Regions from separate parts of the Homo sapiens genome. Here region 2 is linked to region 1. Evidence: promoter capture Hi-C in 16 types of primary human blood cells and fetal thymus (Javierre and others, 2016). All regions are on one chromosome and are shown on one strand. Each heading gives the region's core, a stretch centred on a gene start or on the middle of the fragment in contact. The rest is flanking DNA. Distances are from core to core; before and after follow the strand shown. Region 1 holds the start of OGFR (opioid growth factor receptor). Region 2 holds the start of CABLES2 (Cdk5 and Abl enzyme substrate 2).

What was found. The method cuts DNA at HindIII sites, captures the fragments that hold promoters and counts their contacts. A CHiCAGO score of 5 or more calls a contact.
Region 2: a contact is called between the fragment with the promoter of CABLES2 here and the fragment with the promoter of OGFR in region 1, in 1 of 17 cell types (megakaryocytes). The highest score is 5.4, in megakaryocytes.

The regions. Positions count from the first base shown.
Region 1 is chr20:62,801,326-62,806,854 of GRCh38, reverse strand. OGFR (opioid growth factor receptor) reads right to left here and starts at 2,020. Exons shown (of 7, transcript NM_007346.4): 1 at 1,825-2,020. The coding sequence starts at 1,995. It overlaps OGFR-AS1 (OGFR antisense RNA 1), which reads left to right and starts at 1,268. Exons shown (of 3, transcript NR_102430.1): 1 at 1,268-1,387; 2 at 4,746-4,840. It overlaps MRGBP (MRG domain binding protein), which reads right to left. Exons shown (of 5, transcript NM_018270.6): 5 at 5,126-5,529. RefSeq lists silencers at 1,087-1,146, 1,297-1,466, 1,527-1,676, 1,757-1,826 and an enhancer at 1,342-2,247. The HindIII fragment of the contact is 9,717 bases long and covers 1-5,529 here.
Region 2 is chr20:62,403,925-62,409,219 of GRCh38, reverse strand. It overlaps CABLES2 (Cdk5 and Abl enzyme substrate 2), which reads left to right and starts at 1,935. Exons shown (of 10, transcript NM_031215.3): 1 at 1,935-2,305. The coding sequence starts at 1,944. LOC105372709 (a long non-coding RNA gene) reads left to right here and starts at 2,326. Exons shown (of 2, transcript XR_936967.3): 1 at 2,326-4,330. RefSeq lists a silencer at 1,769-2,018. The HindIII fragment of the contact is 20,791 bases long and covers 1-5,295 here.

The DNA.
Region 1 (5,529 bases), core at 771-3,270:
CATCATGGGGCTGAGCAAAGGGCCGGAAGTACCTAGTGATGAGGATGGTGGGACACAGCCCTGACCTTGTGATGAGGGTGGGGGGCCTGGGGCTGAGCCTCACTCGGTGGGTAGGGCAGGAATGGGCGTATTTGTCCAGGGCAACAATTGGGACCCAGGATCCTGGGGGAGTGCTAGAAGGGGGGTTAGGAGGCCCGGTCAGCCACTGTATCCCCTGGCTCCCCGCTGAGCTCCAGCTGGGACCTGGCGTTGCCTCTCTGCCTGATTTTTCTTTCTTATTTTTTTCCCCTCGAGATGGAGCTTCATGCAATCTCCACCTCCCAGGCAATCTCCACTCACTGCAACCTCCACCTCCCAGGCAATCTCCACTCACTGCAACCTCCACCTCCCAGGTTTAAGCGATTCTCCTGCTTCAATCTCTGGAGGAACTGGGATTACAGGTGCCCATCACGCCTGGCTAATGTTGTATTTTTAGTAGAGACAACAGTTTCACCATGTTGGCCAGGCTAATCTTGGACTCCTGACCTCTGGTGATCCGACTGCCCAGGCCTCCGAAAGTGCTGGGATTACAGGCCTGAGCCACCGCCACCGACCTCTCGGCCTGATTTCTCAACAGGGCCGCTGGTGTGGTTCTCTCGCCCCGCCTGATCATCAGTTTCTACTTCTCCTTCCTGGGGCCAGCGGGAGCCTCCCTGGGTCAGTTCTGGAGGCTGGGTCCTGACTGGATGTGGCCACACAGTCAGCCCACAGGTGCATACATGACACTGCCCAGGAAAAAGTGAAACAGCCCCGCCAGGGTCCAGCGCAGGCAGCTGGGGAGGCCTGAGGGGTCCAAAGGGGAAGGGGAGGGGCTTGTGGACAGAAGCCACAGCAGGAGGCAGAGGGAAGAGGTCAGGGGTCACGGGCGCCTGGCAGGATGGTCAGGGCCTCTGAGCACCGCTTCAGGAGAGCGGCCTGAGGAACTCCAGTGAGGAAAGCCCGTCAAGAGCCCACCCAGGGGTCACACCGTCCTGTGGGACAGAGCCAGACCCCACCCCCCTGCCCAGCCTGCCTGGCCGCTGCCCTCCCGGCGACAGGGCGGAGCCCCTCCGTGCTCTCTCACTGCCCGCTCCACCATGGCCAGGCGCAAACGCAAACAGTGCTGGGTGCCAAGGGGAGAATCCATGCGGAGCCGTCGAGTTCCATGCACTTCCCGGCCCTCCGCAACCCGGGCAGCTCAGCTGGAAGGCCGCTCCCAGATCAATCCCAGCTCCCCGACAGGGGGGCCGGACTGCGACAGTGTGGCGTTCCCAGCGCGGCAACAAAAGTAACCCCGGCGATGACAGGCGCCCGGCGGTAACAAAAGTAACAAGCGGAGGCCCCGTCGGCCCGCCCCGGGCTCCCGCAGGTGCAGACGCGAAGCCTCCCAGGCCAGACCCGGCCCGGGCCCCAGCCCCAGCCCCAGCCCCAGCCCCAGCCCCAGGCCGCGGGGCCTGCGCAGGGGCCGCCAGGAGGCCGAGGCGCGGGCCCGAGGCGGGAGGGGTTCCATCAGGGGCGGCCACGGCGGCTGGGGGCGGGACGCGCCCGAGGCACCCCCGGGGGGAACGGCGCCCACACACGATGGGGCCCGGGAGGCTCAGCTCCGCTGTCACCCACGCGCGGCCCCCGCACTTCCCCGCCGGGCCCTGGGGCTGGGGGTCGGCCGGTCTGGGGGGGGGTCCCCGGGGCTGCGGGAGCTCCAGGAGGCTCCAGGTGTCTCCGCCCGGGATGGGGGGGTCTCCCGTCCACGCAGCCGGGCGGGGGGCGCCGGGGACCCCAGGCCTCTTCCGCGCCGCGGGGCCGCACCTGGAACGAGCTGGGCCGCGCCGCCCGCGGCTCCTCCGACTCCTCGTCCTCGTCCCCTGCGTCCGCGTCCCTCGCGCCGGCGGCCTCGCCGTCCTCGCAGTCCTCGTCCTCCGCGTCCTCCGCATCCTCCTCGTCCTCCTCCCAGGTGGAGTCGCAGTCGGGGTCGTCCATGCTCGGCGGCGGCGGGGCTCGCGCTGGAGGCGGAAGCGAAACCGAAAGCAGAGGAAGCGCGGGGGGCGGGCGGGGGGAGGGGACGGAGCGGCCCAGGCCCCGCCCGCGTCCGCGCGCAACGCCCCTCCCTCCCCGGGACGCCCGCCCCGCGCCCCTCCCTCCCCCGAGAATCCCCCAACGTCCGCCCGGGAGGATGCCCCTCGCGGAACGCCCACCCCCACCCCACGATGCCCACCCGGGAGGATTCGCCCCACCCCGTCTCGCAAGGATGCCCGCCCTAGGAGATCCTCCCTCCCGAAAATGTCCCCAAAGCCTGCCCGCCCCCCAGAGGACGGTCTCCCCGGAAGATGAGCCGGGTACCTAGGAAGGATGTCTTCCCGACGATGTCCTCCCAGCAGGATTCTCTCCCCGGAGGATGCCTGCCCCGCAGAGAATCCCCTCTTCCAGGAATATTTCTGTCCCCCAAGAGAAATCCCCCCAGAGGATGTCCCCATCAGAAGAATGTCCCTTGGAGGATAACCCCCGGAGGGGCCACGTGTCCACAGGGGCCTCTCTCCCTAAGCTGGGTGTGTAGGGGTCTCTGTCCTTCTGCTGCGGGCTGGGGGCCTTACTCAGCTCCTGGAAGCTGCTGGCGGACCCCTGTCCCTCCATAGGCAGTGCAAAGCACGGCCGTTTTCTTTTCAAAGCCACCAGGGGAGTCTTTCTCTCTAGGGTGCCGAGTCTTATATAACCAGGATGACATGGGCAAGCCGTGGCTTCCTTCACCTTTGCCGCCATCTCTCAGTTGTAAGAAGGCACTTAGGGGAGAGGACCACACGAAGCCTGGGCCACCGGGAGGGTCACCCTGGGGACTGTTCAACACAGCTGATGCCAGTTCAGCGCCTCCTCAGGGCCCTCTCTCTAAGCACTGGCAGATATGGGGCAACACAAAGTCACTTTCACCTGCCATTTCCCAGCACCGCGGGTCCCTTGCTCATCCACCTTTGACATCTGCTGGCAGATACATGGCAAGGTTGGTGACCTCTTGAAATAAAAATCAGGAGTGGCCACTCCAGATAAATTTCTTCTGTAACTGCTATACCAATTCATTTCAAAACATTTAGGTAAAACTAAATCTGGATTTTGGACTTGGCCATGAGGATAGCTCCTCGCAGAGTTGTCCCTGTAATGATGGTGGTGGAAAGGTGGAGAAGGCCCCAGCCCAGCCCCTAGGGGACACTGCCATCTCCTAGCCCTGCAGGCCTGCTGGGCCTGGGAACTGGTGACATTCCTTGTACTGTGTGCCAGGGACAGCCGTGAACGCAAGTCTTCCAATCCTGGCCACAAGTACAGGTTAAGGACCCTCTGGGTGCTGGGCCCTAATCTTTGCTGACCTGTTGACCACTGTTAGCAGGTGCAGTCTCACCTGGCTGGAACCTGTGGACATGCATCACACTTTCTTGAAACGACAGTGGTGATGCCCCGAAGTTCTGGGGCGCTGGACATTTCTGTAAATCAACTTAGTGCAGTGGCCAGGGCAGGTTTCCCAGGGAGCCTGAGTGAGCTGCCTGACCTCCTTGTTAGATGATTTACAGGTGGGATCTGGTTGCAGCATCAGAATAGACTGTGAGGTGGAGTCGGGGGGCTCTGATGGGGACATTGATGGGTGCTGGGTGGTTGTATAGGGTTTGGGTGATCTGAGACTTGGGTGGTCAGGCTGCCCCCTCCACTGCCCCAGAAAACAGAAAGACAAGCATACTGGGTGCTGACAACATTGTTCTACGGGGACAGCATTCCCGCTGCTACCTACTGTCGGCAGGACTATAGAACCACTTCCCTAAAAAGAGTATTAGAGACATTGCCCAACTTCTGTTTTACAAATATCACCACACCAAATTGCTTCTTTAGTTGCTTTTGTGTTGTGTGTGTGTGTGTGTGTGTGCAGAGCTCATCTCGGGGGCGTGCTAATCCAAGAAGTGCAGGAGCTGCTGCAGGGGACTGTGCAACAGAATTGCTTCTTCAGAGCATCCTCTGCAGTCCAGTGACGCCCCGTGTGGCACGGCATTCCAGAAGGGTTTGCTGTTGAGGCTGGGGAAAGGGGCTCTCTTTCTCTGTCACATACTCACACACACACACACACACACACACACACACACACACACACACACACAGCTCCCAGGCACCCAGGAAGGGCAATGGTCTCTGCACACGCAGTGGGTGATGTGCCTGGAGCAGGCAATGCTCACAGCTAAGGAGCCCAGCAGAATTTTGTGTGGCTGGGAGCTTGGATTACAGCCTTCATATCTTCTCCAGGCAAGACCAGTGGCAGCCTCCTGATTTGGCCCAAGCATGCCCTGTCCTCAATCAACCAGCCAAGCAGGGAGCCTCGCTGCCAGTGCCCTGCCGCTCAGTATTTATTCGCTGCTATTTGGGGAGCAGTGGAGCCCAATTGCCTTTCCCAGTCACCCCTGGGTCGCCCTGGGTGGGCAGGCGGGGGAGTTCAGATCACTCCCACTCTCAGCCTTCACTGAGTCCCCACCCGCAGCTGCCAGCCATAGAGAAAATGTCTCTGCGGCAGCAGGTGCTCTTGGGCCCTGCGTGTTCCAGGTGTAGAGCCGCTGCTGAGGCTTCCAGGCTCAACATCAGCGGCGGCTTCTGACCCGTTCAGATCTTGTCCCGAGTGCACAGTGTACCACGTCTCGCCTCTACAGCAGCAGGCGCGTGAGCGTCCGTGCACGGGCCAGCCTCATGCCAGCTGTTTTCCTTTTCAGATTGGGGTTCAGTCGGCACCTTCTACATGACATGGTGGAGTGTGCATTACATAAAGCCCCCAGGTTACAGACAGGACCCCTGGGGCCAGGAGAGGGTAAGTACAGCGCTTACCAGGACTTGAGGCCACATCGCCCTTGCCCTGACACTTGTGAATTTGACCTGGTCATCCCACCTGCCAGCAGAGCATGAACTGGGCCTCCCCACAGGGAAGCCCAGAAGCCCCTGTGAGTCCATAAGGGCTGCGTGGCTCCTGACTTCAACCAGTCAGCCTCTGGTCCAGAAGGGAGGCCCGGGGCGGGGGCACGCTGCTCACCTGCCCAGTGGGCTTAACCTGTGGGCTCTAGCTTTCTCCTGGAAGTGCAGCAAAATGTTACAGTAATCGAGATGAGGCAGATTTATTAACTAGGCTTTCCTAGCACAATCTGAGGTCACCCGAGATGCGGTTTCAGATGGAGGTTTAGGACAGTGAGCCTGGGTGGCGAGCAGGACTCCTCCTGGCCATCCCGTGACACCCCGTGTTAGTATTTGCCCCCCTTTGCCCTGCTGCTTCTGGACTGCCTAAGAGCCAGGCTGCTGTCCCGGACTGAGACTCCAGGACAGGACCTGGCACAAAGCCCTGAATGAGGCTGACCTAACAGGAGAGATCAGACGGGCAAGGGGGCACACTTGGGCAGCAAAGGGAGACCCCACCCTTCCCTGGCTGCAGGGCTGAGTATTTGTGCTGTGAGTGGAGGAATGCCAGGCGGGCTCAGTCCTTTGGTCTATGTGTGTGGGGCCCTCCAG
Region 2 (5,295 bases), core at 686-3,185, 400 kb after region 1:
TGTCTGCCTGTTGTCCTGAGAGGCCAGAGGGACTGAACTCCCAAGAGGGAAGTCCAGGTGTGTTAAAGGTTGCTTTAATTTCTCCAGAATCACACGAAACAAAAGCCGTGTGTTCCCTACACACTGCCCGCAGGCCAGGTTGGCTTTTGGCCACCCATCGACACCCTGGGGAGGGGAGAAGACTGGCAGCGGGAGCCTAGCAAGGGGGTTCACCAGACCCAGGAAGAGACCCCGTTCCTTCCTCAGCATTCCTCCTTGTCCCTCAAAGTCTAGCTTAGCGCCAGCAAAGAAGAACTGGCTAGGGGCCCCCCTACTGCACAGCCGATCCCCAGGACCCGGCGCTGCAGCCAGCACGGACAGCTGCCTCCTGCCTCCTGCGTCCTGCCCTCCACCCTCACTCGCCCCTTTCTGTTCTCATCTGACACCAGATTCTCTGCAAGCTGCTGGTGTATGGCCCACCCTCCCCTGTCAGGCCCCTCCTCCTGGTGATAGCCAGCAGGGATGGAGGGCCCACTGTGTGCCTGCCCCAGCCTCAGCACCCTACAGCGCTGGACACACTCACTCCCCGCTCACGGGAGCCCCCAGGCACACAAGTCAGCACCCCATTCTGTGGATCCAGAATCCGCAGCCACCCCTCTGCTATGCCACCCAGCCCCGCGTTCTCCTAGACAGGACAGCTGCCCACCTTCCCCTAGGCCTGGCAGAGGCCTTGGAGGCCAACTTGGAAGGGCGGAGGGAAAGGAAATGGAGGTGCTGCATGCTGCGTGAGCCCCAATGGTGGCCCGTGAAGGCCCACAGGAGGGAGCAGGCAGGCGGGAGGTGGGTAGGGGCCTGAAGGGCAGGGGCCCATGCTAGGGGTGGTGATGAAGACCCTGTCTTGCCCACTCGCCCACTGCCTTGTTGGCCATCATGCTGCCTCCCCACACACCAGGTGCTCCTAGGGCCAGCGCTGTGCCTGTCGGTCCCACCGGGTCCCCAGCACCCAGCACAGGAGAGGCTGGGCGCATGCGGGCAGGTGCGAGGTACTGCAGCGCATTCGCGGACTGACCACTGCATGTGCCTGGCCTCCGGCCACAGCCCGACCCCCTCACTGAGCCAGTTTCATCCTGACAGTACCCTGAGGCTGAAATCATTGTCCCCTCTTTAAAGATACGTAAACCCATGAAAGAAAGCTGGACAGAGCAGGCAGGTGACACAGAGGTGGGTGCAAGGTCCTGAGTCCCTCCACAAAGATACAGCGGGTTCCCCTCCAGACTGCAGACAGGCTCCCGGGCTCCAGAGGCAGGCCCTGACCATCCCGGTGCCACGGGCTCACAGGTTCTGAAGTCAGGGGCACCCAGGCACAGAGAGGAAACAGGCCTGGGCACAAGGCAGGCTCAAGGTCACTTTGCTACTGCAGGAAGTGCAGGACTCTGCCTGGGGCTTTGATCCCAAGCAGGTGCCTTCTCCACTCAGACCCTCGTTCCCTTCTGTCAATGAAGGAGGCCAGATGGCACGCGGGCCCTTCCGGGAAGCGGTGGGGCTCCTCCAGGGGCCGCCCTGCGCCCGCTGAAGCGCCGCCCAGACACACCTCCGGACAGGGAAGTGTGCTGGGGCCTCACCCACGCCGCCCTGGGTCCGGAGCCTTAAAATGTGCGCTCGATGGAGGCCATCCGCGAAGGCCGCCATACAGCAAAGGGAACAGAAAGCGAGAGCCCCGCGGCCGCAGGTCCCAAGACGGGGACTCGAACCGGCGGGGAGGCGCGCAGCTCCCGACTCCCTGCTGCTGCGTCCGACCGCCTCTAGGACCCAGGGGAGCGCCCTGAGCGCGGCACCTCGCTGGCCAATGGGAGAGCGCGACGGCGATACATTTGCATGTGGGCGCGCCGCGGCCAATGGGCGGCGGGCGCGCGGGCGCGCGGGCAGGGGGTGGGGCGCTTCGCGGCGGCGGGCGCAGTCTGAGGATGGCCGCGGCCGCGGCCGGTGGAGCCCCGGGCCCGGCCCCCGGCCCCGCCGGGCCCCCGCCACCCGCCGCGCCGACCTCGGCCGCTCGGGCCCCGCCGCAGGCGCTGCGGAGGCGCGGGGACTCGCGGCGCCGCCAGGCCGCGCTTTTCTTCCTCAACAACATCTCCCTGGACGGGCGGCCCCCGAGCCTGGGCCCGGGCGGAGAGAAGCCCCCGCCGCCGCCCGCCGAGGCCCGCGAACCGCCAGCGCCGCCGCCGCCGGAGCCCCCCACCGGGCTGCCCGCCAGGACCCCCGCGCCCCAGGGCCTGCTCAGCCCCACGCAGGTGCCCACCGGCCTCGGCCTGGATGGGCAGCGCCAGAGGTGAGTGGGGGCCCGGCCAGGTCAGCCCAGGACGCGGGGTACAGGGACGGGGACGGGGGCCGGATCAGCCCAGGACTAGGGGTCAGGATTACTTGGGGCCTCATCAGCCCAGGACAAGGGGGTCAGGTGACCTGGGGCCTTGTCAGCCCTGGACAGAGGCCAGGACAAAGGGGTTGGGTTCACCTGGGGCCTTGTCAGCCCTGGACAGAGGTTCAGGTGACCTGAGCCCCTGTCAACCCAGGACACAGGGGTCAGGGTCAGTCTGGGCCCTCATCAGCCCAGGACACAGGGGTTGGGTTCACCTGGGACCTTGTCAGTCCTGGATACAGAACTGGGGGTTCCTGGGCTGGCTGAGGGTTTCCTCAGGCCCTGTCACCCCCCACACATAGGGTTCATTGTCCCCTGAATTCTCCCAGCCCCTGAATACGGGGTCTGGATCTCCACGTTGTCAGTGCTCTGAAATGGGTTTTAGGGTTCAGCCCTTATTACCCCTGAGACCCCCAGCCCTGTGGGTTCTGGACATGCCCCCACCCCCATCCACTGGTACCAGTGCCCGGGACACAGGGACACATGGACAGCCCTGTGCATCTCTTCGCATTCTTTGAACCGGGCCACACCGTCCATGCCCACCTCCTCAGACCCAGCATGTGGGCCGGGGTCCTCCTGGCACTGTCACTGACACCTGTTCCCAGAGGCCCCTGCACAGCCACATCTCCCATCCCACAGCCACTGGTCTCTGGCACCCCTCCTCTCCCTGTCACTTCCCTGCTGAGCCCCGCCCTTCCCCACATCACTCTCAGCTCGGTATCTTTGGGTCTGTCACACCCTGGGTCTCCACTGCTCCCCCTGCCTTGATTCCATTTCTGGGAACCACCTCAGCCCATCCCAGGGCAACCCCAACCATGAGCCCTGCCTGTCCAGCGTGTGCCCCCTGCCCAGATGGCCCCTGGCTGCCCGACACCCTGTGTCCTTCTCCCAGAGACCACAGGACCTGGGTGACCCTGCCTCCCACAGCCCTCACCTCCAGGAGTGACTGTGGGCTCTGGGCCCAGGACTGGCTGCTTGTTGCGGTTCCTTCTCAAAGGGAGCCACTGTCCACAGGTCCAAGTGCCTGCTGGGCGGCTGTTCCCAGAGGCAGCCCCTGCAGGTGTGCAGCAAAGGGGCCGACACAGAGCTCTTGGGTCAAGGCTGGCACGTGCTCCTTGCTTACCTGGAGGTCATCAGAGTTGCCCCACGCCCCTGGCCTTCGGGCAGGTGGAGGCATTGGGTTCCTCTAAGGTCTTTGGTTGGGGAAGTTTGGGCCCAGAACACAGCACTCTGTCCTCAAAGACTATGACGTCACATGCAGGTTGCGTCACACGCAGGTCGCGGTGCACTCCATCCTTGGAAGTGTTCCTGGCCGTAGCCAGGCTGAGGGTGCCTGCAGACCCAGGCCTGTCCACAAGATGTCCCCCCACGGACATGCCTGGCCGCTGCTCCAGGGAGGGTCAGAGGGATGATTGGGGCAGAGGGATGGATTTGCCCAAATGTGGCAGCCAGGCCCCATGCATTTGGCATGGCCAGCTCCTTCAGGAAGGCGGGAGAGATGGAACAAGGTGGTGACTCTCCAGGGCAGAGCGGCAAGGCCCTAAGGTGTGGACTCCAGGGGAAGCGGGCTCACCCCAACGGGCCGAGCTCCGCAGGTGTGGTGGGCTTTTCCCTAACCCCGGGCCCTGTTGTTTGACATGGAAACAGCTTTCTCCCTCAGTCCTGCATGTTGAGTGTCCAGAACCGGATGGTGACACCAGGCAGACTGGGTGCTGTCATAGGCCCTCCTTCCACAGAGTTCATGCACCCCTGTGTGCACCAGGCCTGGCGTGGAGTGGAGCCCACTTGAGTGGAGGGAGGCAGAGCGTGGCGACGCGCAGGGAAGTGCCTGTGACTGAGAAGGCACCCCCTGCAGGCCCAGAGCCTCCATGGTGACAGTTCTGAGCGCAGCATGCTGCCCACGTGCAGCACATCCCTGCCCTGTGGGATTGTTAGAAGGTGCGCTGTGGCCGGCATCCCTGGGACAGGATGGGACGTGGCATGGGCTGGGTGCCTGCAGTCCTCCTGCCGTACCCACCATGGGCCCAAGCGCCACCACCCCTTGCCTTGCCCAGGGCTGTCTCCTCCCTTCCCTCCTCCTTGGCCCCCATGTCCCTGTTCAGGTCTTTCCTGAACCCCACTCTGTTCCTGGAGGGGGAGGCGTCCCTCCTGGGGCTCTGCTGCCAAGTTCGTGGTGCTGACCTTGTTTCTGAGGGCCATGGCCCCTCCCTGATAGGTAGACCCCAGCGTGAGGACGTCCATTTCACCCTGCGTTCCCTGGGCCTGGCTGCTGATCGAGGGAAGGGTGGCTGCCCCGGCAAAAGGGGCTGCTAGCTCCTGGCTTGAGAGTTCTAGGATGAGTTGGTTTCAGGAAATGGAGAGAATTCTGAAAGTCCTGAAGGCAGCCCTGATGTTGGTCTTGTGAGTGTGGTGGTTTGACCTGGGCTCTGGGAACAGACTTGGCTTGGAATCCCAGCTGCACTGTTCAGTACCTCTGTGACCTTGAGCAGGTGACATGGCCTCTCTGAGCCTCAATCTCCTCTGAGAAGCGGGTTCACACTAAGCACTAAGCATGGCCTCCCTGAGGTCAGAGGTCAGATGCGTGCCCAGGGCTTGGTGAGGTATGTGGCAGGAGTCAGTGTGAGATGAGCAGAGCCTCTTTTTTTTTGAGACAGGGTCTCTCTCTGTCTCCCAGGCAGGAGTGCAGTGGCGCAATCACAGCTCACTGCAGCCTCTACCTCCTGGGCTCGAGTTATCCTGTCTCAGCCTCCCAGTAGCTGGAACTATAGGCACACACCACACCCTGCTAAGTTTTTATTTTAGCAGACATGGGGTCTCACTATATTGTCTAGGCTGGTCTTAAACTCTGGCTCACGTGATCCGTCTTGGCCTCCCAAGTGCTGGGATTTCAGGTGGCAGCCGCC